Linked DNA regions of Homo sapiens: all the other regions are linked to region 1. The links are contacts of gene promoters, found by promoter capture Hi-C in blood cells and fetal thymus (Javierre and others, 2016). All regions are on one chromosome and are shown on one strand. Each heading gives the region's core, a stretch centred on a gene start or on the middle of the fragment in contact. The rest is flanking DNA. Distances are from core to core; before and after follow the strand shown. Region 1 holds the start of RAB22A (RAB22A, member RAS oncogene family). Region 2 overlaps NPEPL1 (aminopeptidase like 1). Region 3 overlaps STX16 (syntaxin 16). Region 4 overlaps STX16 (syntaxin 16).

Evidence for each region. The method cuts DNA at HindIII sites, captures the fragments that hold promoters and counts their contacts. A CHiCAGO score of 5 or more calls a contact.
Region 2: a fragment that was not itself captured here is called in contact with the fragment with the promoter of RAB22A in region 1 in 1 of 17 cell types (neutrophils); the score reaches 6.0 in neutrophils.
Region 3: a fragment that was not itself captured here is called in contact with the fragment with the promoter of RAB22A in region 1 in 1 of 17 cell types (neutrophils); the score reaches 6.7 in neutrophils.
Region 4: a fragment that was not itself captured here is called in contact with the fragment with the promoter of RAB22A in region 1 in 8 of 17 cell types (naive B cells, total CD8 T cells, neutrophils and 5 more); the score reaches 9.2 in naive B cells.

The regions. Positions count from the first base shown.
Region 1 is chr20:58,307,007-58,312,741 of GRCh38, reverse strand. RAB22A (RAB22A, member RAS oncogene family) reads right to left here and starts at 3,027. Exons shown (of 7, transcript NM_020673.3): 1 at 2,730-3,027; 2 at 1,620-1,699. The coding sequence starts at 2,765. It also overlaps the pseudogene PPP4R1L. RefSeq lists silencers at 2,629-2,958, 2,999-3,558. The HindIII fragment of the contact is 7,008 bases long and covers 2,195-5,735 here.
Region 2 is chr20:58,699,640-58,705,374 of GRCh38, reverse strand. It overlaps NPEPL1 (aminopeptidase like 1), which reads right to left. Exons shown (of 12, transcript NM_024663.4): 6 at 4,217-4,359. STX16-NPEPL1 (STX16-NPEPL1 readthrough (NMD candidate)) reads right to left here. Exons shown (of 23, transcript NR_037945.1): 16 at 4,217-4,359. Among named protein-coding and RNA genes, the nearest start is that of NPEPL1, 9.7 kb to the right of the region's middle. RefSeq lists enhancers at 2,810-3,341, 3,342-3,874. The HindIII fragment of the contact is 2,844 bases long and covers 2,133-4,976 here.
Region 3 is chr20:58,673,070-58,678,804 of GRCh38, reverse strand. It overlaps STX16 (syntaxin 16), which reads right to left. Exons shown (of 9, transcript NM_001001433.3): 8 at 5,094-5,174; 9 at 1-2,618. The coding sequence ends at 2,514. It overlaps STX16-NPEPL1 (STX16-NPEPL1 readthrough (NMD candidate)), which reads right to left. Exons shown (of 23, transcript NR_037945.1): 8 at 5,094-5,174. Among named protein-coding and RNA genes, the nearest start is that of NPEPL1, 17 kb to the left of the region's middle. RefSeq lists enhancers at 1,928-2,452, 2,453-2,978. The HindIII fragment of the contact is 2,189 bases long and covers 1,710-3,898 here.
Region 4 is chr20:58,654,573-58,660,307 of GRCh38, reverse strand. STX16 (syntaxin 16) reads right to left here. Exons shown (of 9, transcript NM_001001433.3): 2 at 674-685. STX16-NPEPL1 (STX16-NPEPL1 readthrough (NMD candidate)) reads right to left here. Exons shown (of 23, transcript NR_037945.1): 2 at 674-685. Among named protein-coding and RNA genes, the nearest start is that of STX16, 6.2 kb to the right of the region's middle. The HindIII fragment of the contact is 309 bases long and covers 2,003-2,311 here.

The DNA.
Region 1 (5,735 bases), core at 1,778-4,277:
AAGGCAGGCGGATCACGAGGTCAGGAGAGAGAGACCATCCTGGCTAATACATGAAACCCCGTCTCTACTAAAAATACAAAAAAAAATTAGCCAGGCATGGTGGTGGGTGCCTGTAGTCCCAGCTACTCGGGAGGCTGAGGCAGGAGAATGGCGTGAATCCAGGAGGCGGAGCTTGCAGTGAGCCAAGATCGCGCCACTGCACTCCAGCCTGGGCAACAGAGCGAGACTCCACCTCAAAAAAAAAAAAAAAAAAAAAAAAAAAAAAAAAAGAAAACCAGCCGGAGTAACATGGTGCAACTCTATCTCTACTAAAAAATACAAAATTTAGCCAGGTGTGATAGTGTGCATCTGTGATCTCAGCTACCTGAGGTGGAAGGATGACTTGAGCCCAGGAGATTGAGGCTGCAGTGAGCCATGATTGTGCCACTGCACTCCAGCCTGGGTGAAAAAAAAAAAAAAAAAGCAGACAAAAAATATTGAACACATAGGCGAGGTGTGGCAGCTCATGCCTGTAACCCCAGCACTTTGAGAGGTTGAGGTGGGCAGATCACCTGAGGTTAGGAGTTCGAGACCAGCATGGCAAACACGGTGAGACCTTGTCTCTACTAAAAATACAAAATTAGCTGGGCATGGTGGTGGGCGCCCATAATTCCAGCTACTCAGGAGGCTGAGGCAGGAGAATCGCTTGAACCCGGGAGGCAGAGGTTGCAGTGAGCCAAGATTGCGCCATTGCACCGCAGCCTGGGCAAAAAGAGCGAAACTCTGTCTCAAAAAAATCCATAAATAACCTCTGACAGCAGGAGCTCATAATTTCTCAGGGGACAATCTTATGGCAGTTTCTCTCCTGGGCTGTAAAATATTTCTCTATTAGTCAAAGAATGATCTGCATGGAGCACAAAGGCCAATTTTATCCTAATGATGGATAACATAGATTTTTTCTTTAAATGCTGGAAACCATTTGAGGGTTTGATGATTAAAACTAGAGCACAGCACCTATTTAGTTTTATAAGGTTAACATAATATTAAAGCCTATAAAACACAACTTCTTATGTAGTCAAAGGATTAGTATTGCAAAATGAAAAGTTTTCTTATAGCGTCAAAAACATATGAACAATCAACTTTACTTATCCATAGAACCAGAGAACTGAAAAAACCTTCCATTTCAATATGAATTTATTAATTTATTATTACTACCAGTACAGGAATGTGTAAGGGTTCAGATCTCAACCTACTACTTTCAGGAAGGACAAAAACCATTTAAATGTCTTTTACTTGATATGCCTGAAAGAATAGCACCAGGATCTATTTTCATCTGCCTTATTTCAAGGTGTAATTGCTGTTGATATTTATAGACCGAAGCTTCTGTGTCTGTTCTAATAATTAGTAGAACTCCAATTCATATTTGCATTTTGAAGTTCTCACCCCCAACAAGTCCGAAGATAATTTTCCTAAAATACACAGATCCTCACTGGACTCTTTCAAGTCCTTCCAGAGATGATGCGAACCAGCGACTCAGAATTCAATGACTACAAAGCGCAGGGCCTACACCTGTAACACACTATGTATTTGGAAGGATTTTCAATGCACCTTTAGATGTGTATCAAATAAAAGTCTCTTACCCTATTGTTGGGTTGATGTTTGGATCAAAACTGTCTTCCACAAACCGCCACACAATACTCGATTTACCTACACCTGTATCCTGAAAGAGAACGAGATGAGGGACTGAGAAAAAGTTTACCTTTTGGCAGACACCAAAAACTACTTTGTGGCATAAGTTCAGGATTTTAGAAAAATCACCCTAGACGTGTAAATTTTATAAACGGAGGAACACAAAAGCGGTTGTCATAAAAATTCAGTAGAGTAATTAGGAAATTCCAACTGTACTAAAAGGGAGAGGTTTTTGCCGTTAAGACAGATTAGGACCTTTTGAGAGACCCAAAGTTTCTGCTTCGTGTAAAAAGTAACAAGTCCACTTGCTTTTTAACATATGTTAGTAAACTTTGAACTCCTGAGTTACCTCTGAGTAATCCCTGATGAATCCTAGCCCCACCCTATTTGGGGGAATAAAGATTAGTTATTGGAGTTCCTGCCGATCTTTAAGGCAGAAACTCTGGAATGACAGCATCAATTTCAGAAAGAAGGCTTTGAAATGGCCAACACCTTGTCTTTCCTGACAAGACAGGAAGCTGAAGCTTCAAACTAGTCTTTGGGGCTTCCTGATTTGAACACCCCTTTTCTCCACAGGAAGAGTTACTTGGCAAAGTAACTCTTTGGACAAGTGGCAGGGGTATCCCACAAGTTCAAAAACACCCAAGAGACAAAGTAGGCTAATGCTGCTTGTAAAACCTAAAGACCTGTTATTGGTTTTACTTTGGAAGACTTGGCCAACTCCCAACTAATACCTTGGTAAGTTGGGAGAAAACTATTTAAGAACCTCTCTTAACCCAGATGCAATAGAGAGGCAAGGGGGGGCTGTTTGCTCTTTGTGGGGCGGGAAGAGTCCACGGGCTCCAGGGAGGGGAAGGGGAAGGGTCCCTTCGGCCTCCAGGACCTTTTCGAGAGTGCAAGAGGTGGGCGGGACGGCTCCCGAGCTGGAGGGAGGGTCCACGGGGCTGGCAGACAGCGTCTTGGACGTGGGAGGGGGGAAGGGATGAGGGGACAGGGGGGATCCGGGGTCCCCGCCAGCCCAGCCTCCCGTGGCCCTCCCGGCCGGACCCGCCGCCACTCACCCCGAGCAGACACACTTTGAGCTCCCTCAGCGCCATGGCCCGGGAGCCAGGGGCGCGGGCCCGCCGCCGCCCTAAGTTGAGAAGGGAGAGGCCAGGCCCAGCAAGAGCATCCCCTGGCGCCGCTGCCGCCGCACGGCCCAGCCCCGGTCCGCGCAGAGGCGGCTGCCGCCCGTCCTCCGGCCGTAGGTCCGGCCTGTCCGCTGCCAGCCGCGTGGGGCCCGCCTTAGCAGCCGGGACGCCGCCGCGGCCTTCCGGGAGCCGCCGCCGCCGCCATCTTGGGACGCCGGCCGCGTCACCTGACCTCCCCGCCCACCTCGGCAGCCACCTTCGCTGAGAGGGCGGGGCCGGCCGGCCGGCGCGGATCGGGGGCGGGGCCCGAAGCCGACGGCCCCGCCCCTGTCTGCAGGGCCCCGCCCCTGTCTGCAGGGCCCCGCCCCTGTCTGCAGGGCCCCGCCCCTGTCTGCAGGGCCCCGCCCCTGTCTGCAGGGCCCCGCCCCTGTCTGCAGGGCCCCGCCCCTGTCTGCAGGGCCCCGCCCCTGTCTGCAGGGCCCCGCCCCTGCCGGTCCCGCCTCCATGCCCATCCCAAGATGGCGGGTGAGTGGGGCTGGGCTCGGGGGATGCCAGGGGTGCCCCTCTCTCTCTCGCCCCGTGACCACCCCGCGAGGCCGAGGGGCCCCTGCCCGACCCCGTCCCCTCTCGCCGCAGCCCCCTGGTAACTTCTTGTGTGTTTCTTGGTTTTCAGAGATCCCCCTGTACTTTGTGGACTTGCAGGATGACTTAGACGACTGTAAGTAAGAGTTGGGGCACCCCTGTCCCTCCCTGGGACCCTCTCAAAGAATTCAGAGTGCACGAAGCGCGGGGCGGGGGAACCTCAAGCCAGGCACTCCTTGTCGGGACCAGAACAGCGGGACCCCCAACTGCCTAGATCCACTGGTGGCGGTCCCTCCTCCCTGGGCGGGGCGGGCTGAGGGTGGGAGCCCTTCCCTTCCCTCGGGGGAAGGATTTTTGTTGTTGGGGAAACTTTGGACTCCCTGTCACTTCTTTTCTTCCTGCGCCTGCAGCTGCCGTGGGATGGGCGGAGGGGGTAGTCCCAAGTCCTAGTCGACCCTGGGCGGGCGGGGGGTCCGCCACCTGGGAGGTGGGTGACTTCCCTCTCAGGGCCTTGCCCTTTTCCTAGGGACTTTTTAGGACTGCTGGGGGGTTTGGGAGGTCCCCCTCTCGGTGTGGCCGGTCACGGAGTTGCACGGACTTCTCAAGTGTCCTGGCCACAAGCCCGGCTCCATCTCTTATCCCATGGAGCCCATTGGCCCCCGCATTTCTTGGGTGGGACCCTTGTCCCTTCTTGCCCTCTTTTTTGGAATCATGTTAAGGGCTGGTAGCTGGGGGAGGTGTCATCTTAGAAATCCAAGTTCGCATTTCTGGTGAAGGAAGGAAGCGTTTTCTCTCCTGTCAAGAAACTTACTGAGCAGCTATTTGCTCTGGGGGCCACGTGTTGGGCTCCGAACCTGCAAGGATGTGTTGAAAACAGCTCTACACGCAGGGAGCTCACAGGGTGTGGGGAGAGCCTACTTGTAAACAGAAAATTACCGAGCACCGGAGTGCTTGCTGGTGAAGAAGCCCTATATAAATCATCCAAATAGCTAACATTAATTGGGGGCGTACTGTACGCCAGTCATATACAGTACTTCCTCTCATCTTTCATTCCACATCTTCAGGTTTCCTAATAGTAAGAGTTGGTGTTTACTGAAAACTTACCATGGACCAGACAGCGTTAAACTCTTTTTTTTTTTTTTTTTTTTTTGAGACGTAGTCTTGCTCTGTAGCCCAGGCTGGAGTACAGTGGCACGATCTCGGCTCACTGCAAGCTCCACCTCCTGGGTTCACGCCATTTTCCTGCCTCAGCCTCCCAAGTAGCTGGGACTATAGGCGCCCGCCACCACTCCCGGCTAATTTTTTGTATTTTTAGTAGAGAAGGGGTTTCACTCTGTTAGCCAGGATGGTCTCGATCTCCTGACCTCGTGATCCGCCCACCTCGGCCTCCCAAAGTGTTGGGATTACTGGCGTGAGCCACCACGCCCGGCCCAGTCTTAAACTCTTTACACACATTAACTCAGAAGGCGCAGTTTCGGCTGGGTGCGGTGGCTCAGGCCTGTAATCCCCGCACTTTGGGAGGCAGAGACGGGCAGATCACTTGAGTCCAGCCTGGCCAACATGGTGAAACCCTGTCTCTACTAAAAATACAAAAATTAGCCGGGCTTGGTGGCGCGCGTCTCTAATCTTAGCTGCCCGGGAGGCTGAGGCAGGAGAATTGCTTGAACCTGGGAGGCAGAGGTTGCAGTGAACGCCACTGCACTCCAGCCTGGGCGACAGAGTGACTCCGTCTCAAAAAAACAAAACAAAACAAAACAAACCAACAAGGGGCAGTTTTGTTAAAGTAGCATAACACTTTTGAAGGGGTAAAGCAAGCTGATAGTTAAGAGCCCGGTGTCTGTGGAATCAGATGGCCAAGAGTGAAATCCCGTATCACTGTTTACTGTCAGTGTGATCCCAGGCAAGTCGCTGTACCACTCTATGCCTCAGCGACCTCATCAGTAAAATGGGCATTATAGTGGCCCACCTCAAAAGGCTTTTATAAGGGATTAAATGAATAAAGGATTTAGCACAATGCCTAGTATGTAATAAACAGTTGGTAAATAATGGCTGCTGTTACCGTTATTCATGTGATCATTATTAGTAGTTATTTAACACTGTTGAGCCTGGTACAGTATAGATCCAGGTTTACCCAGCTGAATGTTTCAGCCGATGGGCATGCTCAGATTGAAGGAGTTGTATCATTTCCGTTGATACAACGGATAAACAATGTTTAGTTGCCATGATGGTGCTTGTCATTCATAGATGTGGTATTTGGTCTGACTGGAAAGCTATTTTCTAGCTGCTTCAGTTATCTAACCACCCCAAAACTCAATGGCTTAAACCAACAGCATTTGATTTCCCACAAATCTGTGA
Region 2 (5,735 bases), core at 2,305-4,804, 390 kb before region 1:
TACTCCTGCTGTTGCTGACGGGCAGTGGTCGGTCAGAGCAGAAGCTCAGCTGTGATTGCTGGGGGAGTTCTGAGCTCCATGAGCCACTCTGGCCACGACACCATCTTTACTTGAAAGAAAAACTGACAGACAAATGGCATTTAATTGGATTTAGGTATCTGGCAGATATTTCCCAGAAAAGGAACAAACTGAGCCTCTTACTTCCAGAAACAGCTGACATTATTTATTGCCAATGGTATACATTTGAGCTTTTAAGCAAAAATCAGAATTTTGAAAAACTTTCTCCTATCACCATGACAACTTCCTCATAATGAGTTTTCTGATGAGATGGATGGTGATATTAAGTGATTTTTTGATACTATATAATGTAATGTGTCAAAAATTTGAATTTCTGCAGAACTCTGTGAACCAACATTTTTCAAGTGAACATTCATTTTTCCATGAAAAACCACATGTTCAAAGTGAGAGAGAACAGCGGATTTAACTGCCACAGAGCCCAAAAGTCTATTCATGAGGCTTCAGATTCCATGTTATAACCAGCCTTTAAGAAGCTACCACTTGTTGAGTTTTGGTGTAGTAGCAAAGAATGTTCATAGTTAGTTAGCTGAAAAAGGTACTAAAATCCTTTTCCCTGTTTCAACTATAAAATGCGTGAGGCCAGATTTTCTTGATACAGTTCAACTGAAACAACACATTTCCATAGACTACATCGGAAGCAGACGCAAGGTCCCTAGCTGTCTTCTATTAAGCCAGACACTGACAGGATTTGTGAAAATGTACAACAATGCTACTCTCTCAGTAAATTATTTTTTCATTTTGGAAGATGCTTATCTTCATAAAATTATTTATGATAACATGCAATGGATTTATATGTTATTTTTAATGAATTATACATGTTATAAATTTCTCACTTTTAATTTCCAGTAGAGTAAATATCAATAGACATTGTTATACAAAAAGCCTCTTTGGGGTCGGTACTTGTTAAGAGCGTAAAGGGGTCTCCAGTAATGCATTTGAGGCCTGCTAGTCCAGGCTGGTCTTGAGCTGCCCTTGAAATCTTTGAAAATGGAGCTGTGATTTTTTTTTTCTTGCAAAACTGGGAGCTGGGCTGGCTCCAGCCGGCTTGCTTTTTGAGGAGTGACCATTTCTGCACCATTTGCTCTACAGGCAGCCACTGGGGAGAATGCCTGCTGCGTTGCGTCTGCGTTTCACACCAGGCCGTTGGGGAGAGATTGTGAGCGCCTTCAGGTCAGGATTGGGGTCTTTGCATCAATGGCTGGAGCCTCAGCGCCCACTCCACACAGTAACAGCTCAGGAAAGGCCTGCTGGTTGATCCCAAATCCACGTAGAACGGTTCCAACTGCAGCGGGGAAGATGGGCTGGTTTAAAATAAAAAACCAGGTATTGTTTCACTGGTGCCAGAACACCCAGCTCTTCCTGGTATTATGGGGTCTGCAGACCAGGTGGACCCCGGGAATAGGCAGGGGCTATAGTCGCATTTTCAGAAGGTGATCTGGAGCCATGGAAAATGCCCTACTCTCTGGCAGTTCTACCAGCCACCCTCAGACCACAGCTTCCCTGAAGGCTGTGCAGCTGTGGCCTCTAGGGAAGGCCTGTGTGGTCAGGTTTTTCCTTTGTGTTAATTTCCAGGCCGGGAGCTGACTAACTGCACAGGTCTACCCACAGCCACATGAGATGAAGTCAGGTGCAACGATATTTTCCCTAAGTGACTAGAGTTAGTGCCACAAGCAAACGAATGAATTCCCAGGAAGCTCATCTTCTCACATTGGTCCACAACAAGCCGACATCAAAAACAAGCATCTGATCCAAGGAGAAGAGGGTCCACGACTCTACCAGCCAGAATGTAGCGGCTTCCAGGGTGACCGTGGGTATTGAGGGTGCGTGCGAGGGTGGGAGCAGCCAGTACCAGGTGCAGGCAGTAGGGGGTGCACTATCTGTGGCGAATTTAGGAATCATAACCGACTAGAAGTCAGTTTGCTTATTACCACCGTGTGCCGGTATCTCTGAACAAAGTCAGCAATAACATATTCCTCCTCCGAAAATCTGTTGTTGATTGAAGTTTAAAAAATTGCTGTGGCTACGGTTGCGTTTTAATCACACAAACAAAAGCTTCAAATTCGCATATCGTTGTTACTTATCCTGAAAGTAACATTACATGGACGTTAGCAATGACCCGACACAAAATCTACTACCCACATTCCTTCTGAGAATCGCTCTGACAGTCAGATCCTGTGGGCTGGCTCTGGGCACAGTCGGGGCCTCCAGGGCCCATGATTTCCTACCTCCCGGTGTCGAAACAGAGGACCCAAAATAAAACACGAGAGTGCGGGATGGTCAAAACGAAGACGCGGAACCTGCGTTCCTTCACTTCCCTCATTCCATGTGAACACTTGGAGTTACTGTGTCCAAAATGCTTTTGTTCTGCAGACATCTGAAAGCCACAAGAATCCACCCTGAAGAACTGAACACACAGTGGGTGTTGTGATTGCTGGAATTTACTGTGAAATGGGATTTTTAAGAATCTCTGCCAAATGATACCGTATTAAAGACTTTTCCTAAGTATCTGTGTATCTGTTGCCTCACGAGATTGGAGCTCTTCAAAATCAAAGTTAACAGATAGTATTCTTGGACCAACTATGAGTGAAGACAGCTGGCAACTCTGCCTACTGAACATACATTAGTAAAGAAGATCAATTTAAATGAAACCATTGTCAAACGTGTAGATGCTAAGACCCAAAGCCAGAAACAAACATTCATTCCACCATCTATTACCCCAAGAGACCCATAGGGAGGCATGTTTTTTCTATTAAAAAAAAACAAAAAACCCTTTTTATGATTAGTGTCATTTTCTGCTTAGTTCTAAACAGTTTTGTGGTTTAGAGGAGGGATGGGAACTGCTCATCCTCTCCAGGTATGAAATAAACTAGGCGTGCTAGAGAGCGCGGCGAGCTGCACCAGCGCCACCCTGAACAGCAGCTGACACTAGGGCTCAGTGTCAGGAAGGCAGCAGCAAGTGGTGGGGCCTACCGCAAACCAAACTGGAGAATGGGTGACACCAGGGGCAGGCCCACTGGCTGCAGGGGAATGCTGCCAGGCGGGAACAGAACGCCAGCACTGGCAGACCTTCTGAGTGCACAAAAGGCCGGAAATCCAGGCTTTGATGAGAATCCTTCCTGGTTTCAAATATTGGTAGCTAATTCAAATTTTAAAAATGCCAGGCCTCCGTGAGCCTTGCAGGCTGCTAGTTTGCAGTGTCTGCTGCGGATGCACTCCCTGCTCCTTCCAGACCTCCTGAGGTATGTACTTCCCAGTCTGCTCCCTCCCTGTCCTTCCCAGCCCAGGCCTGAGCACAGAGGCTGCTCACACGGTGTGTAGGATGAATGGATGGAGATGGTGCGGAGGAGGGCAGGGCTTGCTGGGGCGGGCAGACTCGGCCACGACGGGGGCTCCACAAGCACCTGTCCTCCTGGGATGGCAGGACAGAAAGCCGTACCACGGGACAGGCTTCTAGGGCCACCGCACCGGGATGTTCCCGGGTGACTCGCTTCTGTGCCGTGCCCAGATTCCCCTCGCTCTTGGGGGTCACGTGCCTTTGGAGGGTCTTGTGTGGCCACTCTGAGCGTTTTCTCAGTGGGGACCATGGGCAGACTCAGAGACACAGGCGTCCCCTTGCCCTTCTCTTCTCGGGACAAAGCCCCCAAGCAGCAAGCCCTGCCTCCCTGGCCCTGCTTGCCATTTCTTCCGTCATTTCCGGGGCTGCTCTTGGGCCCTGGCCAGGCTTTTGTTTCCAGACCCTTCTGAAGGGTGGGCATGAAACCCAGGGAGCCACGTGAAGCTGTCGCCTCAGCACATGGGAACCCGCCCTGCGCACTCTCCCCGAACCCACCCCAACCCAGAACCCCCAGAAACCTCGCCGCCCCCCACCCCATGACACCTCTCAGAGGGCTGGCTGGACCCAAACTGGGCCCCTCCCCCCCCCCCAGGGCACCCTGGAGAGCCTGCCGGCACCTCACCTTCCCCTCCCCACCCCACCCCACCCCAACCCCAGGGCACCCTGGAGAGCCGGGCCCACACCTCACCTTCCCCTCCCCACCCCACCCCACCCCACCCCCAGGGCACCCGGGAGAGCCGGGCCCTGCACCTCACCTTCCCCTCCCCTCCCCCAGGGCACCCTGAGAGCCAGCCCGCACCTCACCTTCCCTTTGATGCTGAGGCCTCCAGTGTCATAGACGATGCCTTTGCCCACCCAGGCGATGGTCTGCGTGGCTCCATCTGGGGTGTGGCTGAGGACGGCCAGGGCTGGGGGATGCAGGGCGGCTTTGCCAACCCCATAGATTCCTATGGAAAGCGTGGGGAGAACTGGGTTAGGCTCGGGCTGAGCTGAGCGGGGAACTCCCAGAGGCCCCTGGAAACTCTGGCCGGCTGGTGTTTCTCCTGGAGAGCCGCCTGCCTGAGCCTGGTGCTCCCTGCCCCTTCTCCTGCCCCTGGCCAGTGTGGGATTGGGGAATGCAAATTAGCTCCAATGTCTGAGATTGCAAACAAATTCTATGCAAAGTGTTGTTTGTTAAGCAAGAAAACCCACTAAGGGAAAAAAATATTGTATCCTTTCCAGAAAGAAAAGAACAGGATTGCAGAATGAAACGATGTTTGGATAACACCTCAAGGCTGCCCCAGCCCATGCTCGTCCCCACTTCCTGAATCCTTTGAGCACTCAGGGACTGCACCGCCCTTTCACACTCGCTCCCACAGTCCCTGCACCACTGCCTCTTTGGTTTACATGACACATCTTCTCAAGAAAGCTGTGGCCTGTGCGTGTGCAGAGTCTATGGCTCAAAGTCCTGCAATAATTGAGTCAAACAATCATAGCAACAATGACGAGAGCTAATCATGGCTGCCTGACAAACTCCAACTCATCCTGTAAGATCCACAGCAAATGCCACCTCCTCTGTGAAGCTTTTCCTGACACAAGCGGCCTCTCCCTCCACTTGTAAATGGCTCCTGTCTAGGTAGACACCACCAGGATGGCCCCTGTGGCCCCCACGTCTGGGTATTCATGTCCTTGTGCAGTCCCTCCCCCTCATGTGAGCAGGTCCTGATGTCTCACCTCTAACCAAAAGAAAAAGGTAGAAGTGATGAGATATCACTCCTGGGATTAGGTCACAGAAAAAGATGGGAGTTTCCATCTTGTTTGCTCGCTCTTTATCCCTATCTCTCGCTCAGAGACCTTGCTCGGAGGGTGGCTCAAACAGCAAGGACCTGCTGCCTCCAGCTAATGGCCTGTGAGGCCCTGAGACCTGCCAGCAGCCTGTTGTGAGCCTGCCCGGAAGCACATCGCCAGCCCCAGGCAAGCCCTCAGATGACTGCAGCCCCAGCCAACAACCTGACAACAGCAGGCAGAGACGCTGCACCAGGGGAAGATCCCCAACCCACAGCACGGGGAGGGGATAAGTGTTGCTGCATTCAGCTGCTATCTTCCGAGTGATTTGTTTTGTAGCCACACATAACACAGACAGCCGCCTTCCTCTTGCCAGTCTACAAGCACCACGGGGCAGCTGAGTCATACTTATCTGCCCCTCTGGTTCCTGGGCAGTGGGGAAAGGTGGGTCTGGGGACTTGGGGAAGGCCTCTCTGAGGAGGGGGCATTGGTTGAGATGGCCTCCACCAAAAATATATCTTGGGGGAAAGTATTCCAGATAGGGAGAGCCATCCGCACA
Region 3 (5,735 bases), core at 1,555-4,054, 370 kb before region 1:
CCTCAAATGCTACTGATCTCTCCCCAAGTACAGGCTCAACAGAAAAATACAGTGGTTTGAGGACCCCAAGAAGTCAGCACACAGGCCAGGGGCCAGCTCCAGGCTGGGTCTGTCTCTCCCACCTTGGGAAACCCAGCGCTAAAACAATTTTTTTTTTTTTTTTTTGAGACGGAGCCTCGCTCTGTCACCCAGGCTGGAGTGCAGTGGTGTGATCTCGGCTCACTGCAACCTCTGCCTCCCGGGTTCAAGCTATTCTCCTGCCTCAGCCTCTTGAGTAGCTGGGATTACAGGCGTGTCCCACCCGGCTAATTTTTGTATTTTTTGTAGAGACGGGGTTTCACCATGTTGGCTAGGCTGGTCTCGAACTCCTGACCTCGTGACCGCCTTGGCCTCTCAAAGTCTGGGATTACAGGCGTGAGCCACCGAGCCCAGCCCCTCCTTAAAACAGTTTCTAATCAGATCCGTTATTTTACCCAAATGGGTTGAGGGAACAAAAACCAACCCTCATCACCCTATTTGGTGAAAATAAATATAAAAAAAGATGATCCTCTCTTAAAGGGTCACTTTCCTTCAGGGGTTTGTAAGGCTCAGCACTTTAAAAAGCTTGAACAGAAGTCCGGTATTGCCACTGTGGACTGTTTTTGAGGCAAGTTCCCTAATGTGGACAGCCCCACACCTAAGAGCAGCAGATCTAACTTGGAACGTCTCAACCATGGGTTAAAATCAGATGGGATGAAAGAACACCTGCAGTGACTCTCAACAGCTACGGAAGTCTCACATTGCAGGGCTGACTGATGAGGTGCTGGCTTCTTATTCTCCGGCCCTCTTTCCTAAGCAATGTTTGTCAGGGAATACCAGGTCCGCTTCCTGAAATGCCAGGGCCCCTCTAGGACCTTATCATTCCACAGCCACATCAGTAATAGGAAAACCACCAATGGCTACCTGGAGGTGGCACCAACTTGGAAAGGGAAGGCTGGGCAGGGGTTTGGACACTAAGCCCATGAGCTGTTTGGACAACTTCAATCTCTGGAATTGAGTTTAAATTTCTGTAAACAACTTTAAAGTCAACTCTAGAGAGACATTTTGTGTGACTGGTCCAAATAAAACAGCACATTTAATGAGGTCATATTCTTCTTAAACTTTTTAAGAGAAGCAAAAACAATGGAAAAGCCATTAAAATTTACACAAAGACCATTAAAACTCTACTAGTGTCAATTAAAACAAAGCCAATAAAACATGAACAACTTCAAAGTTACCATCACTTTCCACACTGTTCTACAGTTATAGGAATATATTCAAGCACCATATTGATAATAGGTAGGTAAACGATGAAGTCCTACTTTGGCGGTCTGACCCACGCTCACACAAACGAGGAGCTTCCTAGTCAAGATGCCCCCAGTCCTTGGCAATGTGCCTGCTTCCTGGGCATTGCTCAGTGGCAATGGAAGAGCCAATAAATCAAATCGCTGGTGGAATATTTTACTTTGAAATGGAGTGATGTTTGGTTAATAATTTGAGATCCACTAATCCTAAATGGGGTGACCCATTTAAAATGGCCTCTGTGTAAATTCACAGTTCATTAAATAGAGTCTGGTTTGAACAGGTCATTATGTAGTTAGTATATAAGTAATGGATTGAGCAAGGATGGCTGGGGATACCCATGGGGACACACTGGCTGAGTCTGGTGGCTTTCATAACACTGTCAAGCTTTCTTTTAATGTGAGATTCATTTAAATCACCAACTTAAATTTAGGTGGTTTTGCTTAGTAACCTCTTTTGGTTTACAGTAGAAAATGCAGTGCAAAAATTTTAAATGAGGAATATTCCATTTACAATTAATTTAAAACTTATGAAGCTGTTTTAACTGGCCCATCTAAATGTGTTAATTAACATCAATGATGGTTTCTTATTTTTCACACTTTGTTACTCTGATCATTAACAGTGATGGAAAAGCTAAATTAAGTTAATGGGGAACGGATTATAAATTCTTAAAGGACTTCTTAGTTTGTTTTCAACTGGAAAATATATAGAGAAAGATGAAGGGGCATTTTTGCCTCTACTCATCAATTTTTGGTACCAAATTTCTTAAAAACCAGATGGTTTAAAGAAAATTTTTCCAAAAATTATGTTAACATTCTGCTCAGACATGGCTGCTAAAAAAATAGCATATACACATATAATACTGAACAGCTTCTGCAGTGCCTGTAAACTCTCAGCTCATTTTCTCTTTCTAAAAAAAATATATATTATAACTGATCCCAGAACTCAATCTCTATTGTGCAGCAGTATCAAAGGTCCTTAAATTCTCAACAATGAAGGAAAAACAAAAACCCATTCCCCGGACCGCTTGAGCAGGACTAGGGAAGGAGGAGTCCGTGGATGCAAAGGTTCGCTGCCCCGACGCCCTCAGATTCCTCGAGGCTGCACCTCTGCGGGCAGCTGGCGGGGCGCAGGCCAAGCCCCTCACACCCGGGAGATCCACACGCGCGGCACACACGAAAACCCAATGCCACTTATCGAGACTTCACGCCAACGAGGACAACAATGAGCACAATGATGATGACAAATAATATTAAAATCACAAGCATCTTCCGATTCTTCTTTTGATACTGTTCTGCCTACAAAAAGAGGAGGGAAAAAAGGCCGTCATTTTCCCCAAAATCCCAAATCAAGTCCCACTCGTTTCCAGAATGAGGCTTCCAGATCTCTCTGCACAGTGACTGAGGTCTCTGCTACAGGCTACATGATTGTAATCCCTCCAATCAATCCCACGGAATTCAATCACCAGGAGTGGAAGAGCCCCATGATCCTGGTGCTGCTTATTTACCCTGGACGTGGAAATGGATTTGTTGGAAACCTACTACTAAGACAAAGCCTGACAGGGAAGTGAAAGCTCATGCTTCCGGGTGCAGCTGGGCCTGCTTCTCCCGGCTTTTCCTCCTGCAGGCCGTGGCAAGTGCCCCTGCAGCACGGGTCGCCTGTTCCCGGTCCGTGTTCCTGGAGCGAATGCACAGTTCCTTCACCGCGGAAGGAAACAACGGGCTGGAGGACCGTACCTGGCAGGTAGGCAACAGACACCCGGAAGAGGCCCCATTTCGACCTCCCCTAAATTTGGAAACAAAAACTCATCCTTTGAAATAAAAACAGACACGTGTGCCCCATGGATGTCATATGCAGAAAGATCCCTCTGAGGCGCGTCCTCCCAGTGCCGCTAACGATACAGCAAAGGAGCCCTCCAAGCTCAATCTGGGGACGAGGCTGCACCCTGCACATCTCTTCACCTTAACACCGCATCCTGGAAGCTCGGCAGGAGCGGGAACTCCATCATGCCTGCTAGAGAAATGCCAAAGGGCCCCACCTGGCTGGCGAAAGACGCAGAGCACTGAGAAAGGAGAGCCAGAGGACAGCAGAGTTCAGAGGGCGCCGGGAGGCACGTCCAGGGAGAGCATGCGCTGCCTCTTCCAGACCTTGCTATGGCACAGGAGGGAGGAGGAGACAGCGGGAAGGCAGCCCTGGCGAGAATGGCAATCTCTCCTGCTCCATCCCCCGCGGTGGGCTTGTTTCCTAAGTGAGCCTGCCCGCCCACCTGGAGGAGCCCCTCATCCACCAGGAGGAAACATCAGGCACGGGGACAGCACCGAGAGTCCGGTCATGGGGAGCAGCTCCCGACGCTCAATCACCCTTAGACTAGCCGACTGCCGAGCACGCGCGTGCTGCCTACAGCCTTGTGGCTGGAGGGAAGATGGAGCACGCTGACTTTTCTAATAAGTAACCCAGAACACCAGGGAAGCCAATACTAAATAATATACTGTAAAACCTCTCAAAATGATTTATAAAGTAGAACCTAAAACAAAATTTTTAGTTCCCACTAGATTTGCTCACTCCCGCAGAGAAAGCTTTTCCTTTTATCTGTGTTATATTACAAAACATATTTCACTAGTTTTTATTTAAGAAACTTCAAAACCAATGCATAATTCAGCAGCACATCAAAACCTGGGTATTACAGAGTGAGAAACTTAAGTTAGTTTTCACTTTTAATAGACAGGGCTTGGCAACCAAATTAATCTAAATGCTTAAAAAAACCCTGCATAGACAAGGTCAGACTTCTCTTCCCACCACAGGCTGGAGTCTCATATCCACCTACACATGGCAACAAGCCCCCTGAAAAGACAGCTCAGGGCTTCTGGTTAGACTAGTGCAAGGGCTGACTTTTTGTAAACCCAATACTGCTATTAAATGGGGCGATCTCTGGTATAGGAAGCGACTGATTTCAGAAAAATGGTAGAGTAGTCCAACAGTGAATTGGCAAAACACTCATTATATGGCTAGAAACTCCACTGGGTCTCAAAGATACAAGGAAATGGATATTATTTAATTTGTGAAGTATTGTTATATTCCTTTTAAAGAAAATACGTAACCAATTATATATGAGAGTCTCAGCCGTTTATGCATGTTTCTTATAACCGATAAGATTCCTAAGATGCTTTCCATCTATTTTTTTAAAAGAGAATATCATAAAAACATCCCTGAAACAGCTACCTTATTAGCACAGAATAAAAGAATTACTACTCTCACTTCAACAAACTTCTCTTTTCTCAAGGTAATACAGATATGCTGTGGTAATTAAAGAGAAGATTAGATTTTTATCTTCTGCAGAATGATTCTCCATCAGCAATTCATCAGGAATGTATCACAAGAGAGGCCCAAGTCAACGGCAACAAGCAGACAGATTTTCAACACATATTTTAGCAAATGCCCAATTGATTTCCTAAAACAAGAAGCATTAGAAAAGAATGAAATATTTTCTAAAAGAAAGAACTCCAATCTCTTTAGAATTTACTGTCACAAAAAGGAGTTCTTAGCAATTTTGGATTTAAGTGTGAGATACACCTGGAATCATTAACTGCAATAAAACGGCAACAGCCCCCACAATTGGCTTTAAATGAAATGATGAATCCCTTTTTACACTACTGTATTGAGAGTGGACAACACAAGAATGCTGAAGATCGTTATGGTGGAAAAGAACCCTCTTACCAATTCTTGATTATTTGAAAATAGTTCCTAAGATTCCCAAGTCTTGAAAGACATATTACCTTGTGAAGCTGTTTCAAACCATCTTCAGTTTTGATACAGGACTGTTCAACGTTATAGTCAATTCTGTCAAGGACTGTACCCTAGGTAATAAATGACAGTTACAGACAATCAACAATAGCAACTGGGAAAACTGAACGTCAAAAATGAGATATGCAAATTACAGACATCATCATCCATAAGATGATGTTTTCCTTCCCTGTGTGCTGCAGGTACACACGGAGGGCTCTGGAGTTCACCCTCAAGCAGTGTCAGGAGCTCGATGGCAGAATGCTGGTTAGTGCCATCACATCTAGCTCACGAGAAAGAAGTACTGACAGACTGAGGTTTCCTTATTGGTTTCAGCTGCCATAGAAATGCCATATTCGGACTTCCTGGGGCCCTAAGAAATCTATGGTCCAGTGGACAGAGGCTCTGAGCAGCACAGAAGCTCTGCGCCCATTTGCTGCCTACGTACTTGGATTCAAGTAAGCAGAGAACACCAGGTAAGCTCGCCCCTGTCATAAGTAGACCTGCAAATTGACTATCACGTCTATAAACGTGGATCCACATCTCTATGGGTCAGAGCAGGAAATGGTAAACTCCAGTCTACCACCTAAAATTAAAAATTTGGACTCAAGGGGAAGATGTTTAATTGTTTAATC
Region 4 (5,735 bases), core at 908-3,407, 350 kb before region 1:
GACAATAGACACAAACATTAACAACAGTTTTAATCTCATTTTTTCTCAACCCTTTTACTCCGGCTACTAAAATAAAGTGCTTTGAATATATATTCTCTCCACCTTCTGGGCAAGATGCTAGTAGCTAATAAAAAGGCCAAAGGCACCCCCAGCTAGGAGATGCAGAACTGGGCCCAGGTGACAATAGCTCCAGGTGCATCCACTGGGTGTCATCTCATTCCAGACAGGAGTGACAAGGAAGACCCTCCCACAGTTGCCGTGGCTACAGTCCTTCTCATTTAGGGCCTTCACAGACATGCTGGCCTTCTATACTGTCTACCTGAGGAAGTGCACGACTCACTTCTCAGAAATCAGGAAGCTACAGACATTAATTCTCAAAACATTCTGGCTTCCTTGAAGAAAGTGTTCAACCTTTACTGCTTCCAAAGTTAAGACACTTTCCCAAGACTAGTAAACGATCTTCCCAAAGCCTTTTTTAAATCATCAGTTCACATGGTGTGAAAATAGATTAAATTCTACATATTAAACTGTTAAAAAAATTATAAAGTAATCAAAACAAATGCTAAATATGTATAAGCTGTTAGCATTTTATATATGAGCAAAGACTTCAGGAAAAGTAGGTATTTTATAAACTCAAATTACCCAACATATAAAAATATTCAAAACACAATACCTCGTCCAGCTCCTGAAGAGACATGTTGTCCCCATCAGTCCCATCCAGTTGGGGAAAGCACAAAGAAAGCAGCATGGGACAGACAGACAGACAAGGCATGGTCAGTTGAGAAAACACTGAGATTTTAAGCTGACTAAATATAAAGATCCACTAAGCAAGGCATTTTAAAATCTCCTTTTTTTTTTTTAAATTAAGCTACATCAATATATGCTTTAATTTTTATTTACTGTGGTTGTTTTGAAAATGAGCTAGGAAACAAGCAAAAAATGACTGTAAATATTAAAATACACTGGAAACAGATAAAACACACTTGCTTTGGTTTCACTAAAATATGCTGTTAATCTGTTTCATAAACACCAAATATCACATACAATACCACATTCTATTTTCCCTCAGGAAAATAAAATAAGAGAGCAGAGCTAAAATGTAATTTTATCATGTTAAATAAATGTATATTTTAACATGTAAATCAGACCTGCAAATGCAACAAAATTAAAAAATAAATGACCCACAAAAATTGTCTGTAGCTGTATTCAGATAACATGTGAGTGACCACATATGTAAGGTCTCTGCAAATTACATCCCGCAGACACGGCTTCATCCCTGGTAGTAAGAGAGCTGAGAAACCACTCTTTCCCGGAGAGAGACACAGGTGGCAAAATAAAAGAAAAACTCTTACCATCTCTTGGTATGTATTATTATTAGCTAGAAAGCATACAGTTATTCATAAGGCTCTTATAAAAGCAAGCAAACGAGACAAAACAAAAGGTAAGAATAATTTTTTTCTTTTAAGGGGAGGGGGAAGGGAGAAGCATGACACCAGAGGGTTAAGTTTCAATTGAAAAGTAAAGGTTCTTTTTTAGATCAACATGGAACTCTATCTTCTGGACAGACATTTACTAATGACAGATAATCTAAACAACTAGGTCTTTTTTTTGTACAGTATTGATCACTGAAATAATTAGTGGTGAAATTCAATAATCAATTGTGTTTTTTTATGTTTAGCAGTAAATTTAGAAAATAAAACATAACTTTCTTATTTAAAAATAGTGCAAATGAAGCTGCTCTATCAGGGTCAAAATATTATTAAACAATGATAGCAATAAAAATGTAATCAAACTTTACTCCACGTAAAAATTCAATTAGATGACATTATGAAAAGCTGCAAATCCTCTTCATTCCTTCCACAATTTTCTATGAGAGCAAAAAAGAACTCTATACACACCCTGCCATAATAGTAGTACTAGACGATATTAATAAATCAAATGGAAAGCTGATTTAATTACCTTTTACTTTACAAAGAAAAAATGTTTTTATTTTTTAAAAGCTTAACATTAAGAGAACATTAAAATCTTTTATTAATAAAACATGATGCAAGACAAAATCCCTAACTTGAGTATCTCAGTCTTCTTCCTATTCTGCAGCGGCTCCCTGGCATTTAATCTTTGAACGATGTACTATTGCAAACCTCGGTTAAAATCTCTGCTGCACATGTGCCTATGCTCTTGGATTATTAACCGAGCACACACACCCTGATCTTCTGATTTCTACAATTATTAGTTGATAAGAGGTGAAATCAGAATCATGGGATTCTAGGGCTAGAAATAAGTCTTTTCTTACAAATAAGAAAACTAAGCTTCAAAATGTATAAATGCATTGCTTGAAGCCACAGAGCTTGTTAATGGTCAGACTGGGGACAGACCCAGGTGTTCAGGTCTCTTTCCACCCCACCCTCCAGCCTCTCTAATTTTATTAACAATTCAGGGAATTACTTGTGATAGGCAGCTACCACCACATCAGGAATATTAAATTAAGGTCACCTTTTCAAAGACCCTCCCCACCATTCTGCTATTTAAAAATAGAAGGCTTTCAAAATTCTGTCTGCCACCAAATTACCAGGAAATTTAGTCAAGACCTGAATTAAAACATTTAGAATTACCATCAAGAAAGACCAAAATAAAGCCAAATGAAAACACGTTACTACACATCATCACCTTCTAAATCTTTATAATGTCTAAATCTAGGTTTTTGACCTTCCAATGGCATGCAATCAAGCAAACACTGAAAACTCCAAGTAGCATGTGGAATTTATAGTCTAAAGAACTTTCTACATAAAACTGAAAAATAAGTGGAAACCCATCTGTGTTTACTCAGGAAGTCTGGAAAAGTTGAGCAAAATGAGTTGGAAACACAGGTCTATGCTATAGTGATATTTACTTTATTTCCGTTACTGCCAAAATAAAAGTTTGCTTCACTTTTATCCAACAAAGTACCCTTATTCTCAAAGTAAGCCTCACTGCTCCCATGGAATCTTTAAAAGCAGAAAAGCAAGTAGATCTAAAGAGAAATATATAATGATTTCATACTTGGATTCTAAAGACAGAGAACTAATTTTCCAACAGACTCAGCTTGTACTAAAACTTAGAATCTTCAATCTGCAAGTTAAAATTGACTATGTAAGGTTCATAAAGTGAGATAAAGAAAGATGCTAGCCTATTGCAAGAAAAAAAATTGTTTTAAAACAATAGGTCCTTCCATTTTCCAGGATCTGCAGCACAAGTTCTGAAAATGCAGCCAACACCAGAGTGGCCCAGGAGGTGAGCACGGGGCTCTGAAGCCAGATTTGCCAGAGTTCCAATCACAGCCCCCAGCCATCAGGTGGGTGACACTGGGCCAGTTTCCTACCTCCTCTAAAATCTGTTTCCTTATCTGTATCTGAGAAAAACAATAGTACTTATTTGATAGAGCACTGTGAAGATGAGCTGAGCTTACACACGGAAAGGGCTTAGCCCAGAGCCAGGCACAAAGTAAACTCTCCATAAATCTTAGCTAATATTGTAGTCAAGCCTGAATAAGGACCTCAGGTTTCTTATAACCATAGTTAATCCTTAATTTCCTTTTTCCTAAAGCACACATTTTATTAAAAATAATGTGCTTATGTTTCAAACTAATCTAAGACCAATTAACGCTAGCTTCCAATTATAGATTATGCATTATTTTAAAGCAGAGTATAGATTAGGCAGTAAACACTAACAAAGTAGCTCCAACCCCTATATTAGATCCATTCCCGGAGATCGAAGGAAACCACACAAATCCATACAGAATTTCATCAGATCAGAAGAGCATCTCAATATCTACCTTTCATTCATTTCTTTATGACTTTACAATTTGTTTTGAATAATTGTTTAGCTTCATAAATCCATTTCAGTTTCCTAAAGCCAAGCTGCTTGAATGAGTTGCTACCTTAAAACCTGCACTTGGCTGGCATAATAATGTGAAAGTTACTTTTGCACAGTACTGGGGCTACTTCTAAGGATTTCTGTCAGTAACCTTGGACTGACAGCTACAACACTGTTGACTATGAATTTCTCCTTTTCAAATTAAAGCTAAAGTCAGGAGAAACAATGTATTAAAACAGAACTTGAGAAAATACTGTTGAATCGATAGGGCTGCTGGAAATCACCTAACCCAAACCCCTCAGTTTACAAATGAGGCAAAAAATGTCCGAAAAGATTAAAGGCTTGCCTAAGGACACACTCTGAGCCTGCAGCAGAACAGGACTTAGGCCTCAATTCTCAGATTCAATTCTCAGTGCTCTTTCCTTTATTTCATGCTGCCCTGAGGCATGAACGTGATGGGGCACTCAAAACTGAGGCCAAAGTAAAATGCATGGGAAATACGACTGTATTTTGTTAGGAGTGCATAAAGTCAAACCTGTCTGTTTTTTTACAATTAGTTTTACTAACTTTAATACAACTAAGAACACAAAAAAGTAGAATTTTGCTCAGTTCTGGATGCTGAAATCTAAAAAGGATACAGAAAAACTAAACATCATTTATAGGAAAAAAGCATAACCACTCTGAGCCGGGAATGCTAGGCCTGGAAAGAATTCTGGGTAACAAGGCTGCAGGGTTACCAGACAGAAGGAAGACCCGAAGGAACAGAACTAAAAGCAGGACCCCAGGACACAAATAGTTGGGATTAACAGGCAAAGACTTTTTAGTGGTAAAAATCATGGAGCTGCTGGCATTTTCCATCATTGTCATACACCATGGCCAAATAAGATAGGCATGAGGGGTTATCACAAATGGGGACATTAGGCCAAATGACCTTTAGGTTCCTTCTGGCCCTTGAGGCTTTGTGTTTATCTGGTCACTGCGTATCCTCCTTAAATTCCTGTTTATTTGACATATTTGCCTGAATGCTGCAAAACCCTGTATGCACGCACAGGGACACACAATAACCCCACTACAACAACCAAATTCTAGTTTTTTCCCTCAAACTAGGATGCAAAAAATGCATGTTTAAATTTTTTGAATGGCATGGCTTTAGGTGTGCTTTGCTTTGAGGTGTATGATACACACTACTCTGCAATTAATTTCTGCAGCTTTTTCCTGAAATAAGATGTCAAAATTCAGGATTACAATTTTTTTTTTAAAAAGTCTGTTATTTTAGGTGTATTTTTAGTTGGTATCAAATGCATCAAGATCAAAGTCTACAGCTTTTTCTTCTAATTGGAAACTTAAAATTCCAGGTTATTATTTTTTAAATTAAGTTAAACTTAGGTTTAATTTCTTCCTTTCAAATTGCCTGAGTGTTAGACATGTATTTACAAATTGCCTCTTTTTAACTGTTTTACTTTACTATAACAAATATACTTACTTTAAGTTTCTATTTAAAAATTTTCAAACATGCAGAAAAGCCTACAAAATGGTAAAATGTCGCACACATACTCATCACTAGACTTAACAATGAGTAACAATTTGCCTTATTTGCTTCCTCTATTTTTGGAGGGGTTTAAGGACTTAGGTAAGATGCCTTGACATTTCACCACTAAACATTTCAGTAGGCATCTCTAATAAAATTAGCAAATGTAATGTATTATAATTAATTCCTTAATGTCACCTAATACCTAGTCCATATTCAAAATTTGACAGATACGATTTTGTTTGGTTTGCTACATGGCTTTGAAATTTACAAGTCAGAAACAAGGCTTTAAATTTTTTGTGAGCTAGATATGCAGTGAAAAGCATTGCTAAGAGTTACTCAATAGATTTTACAA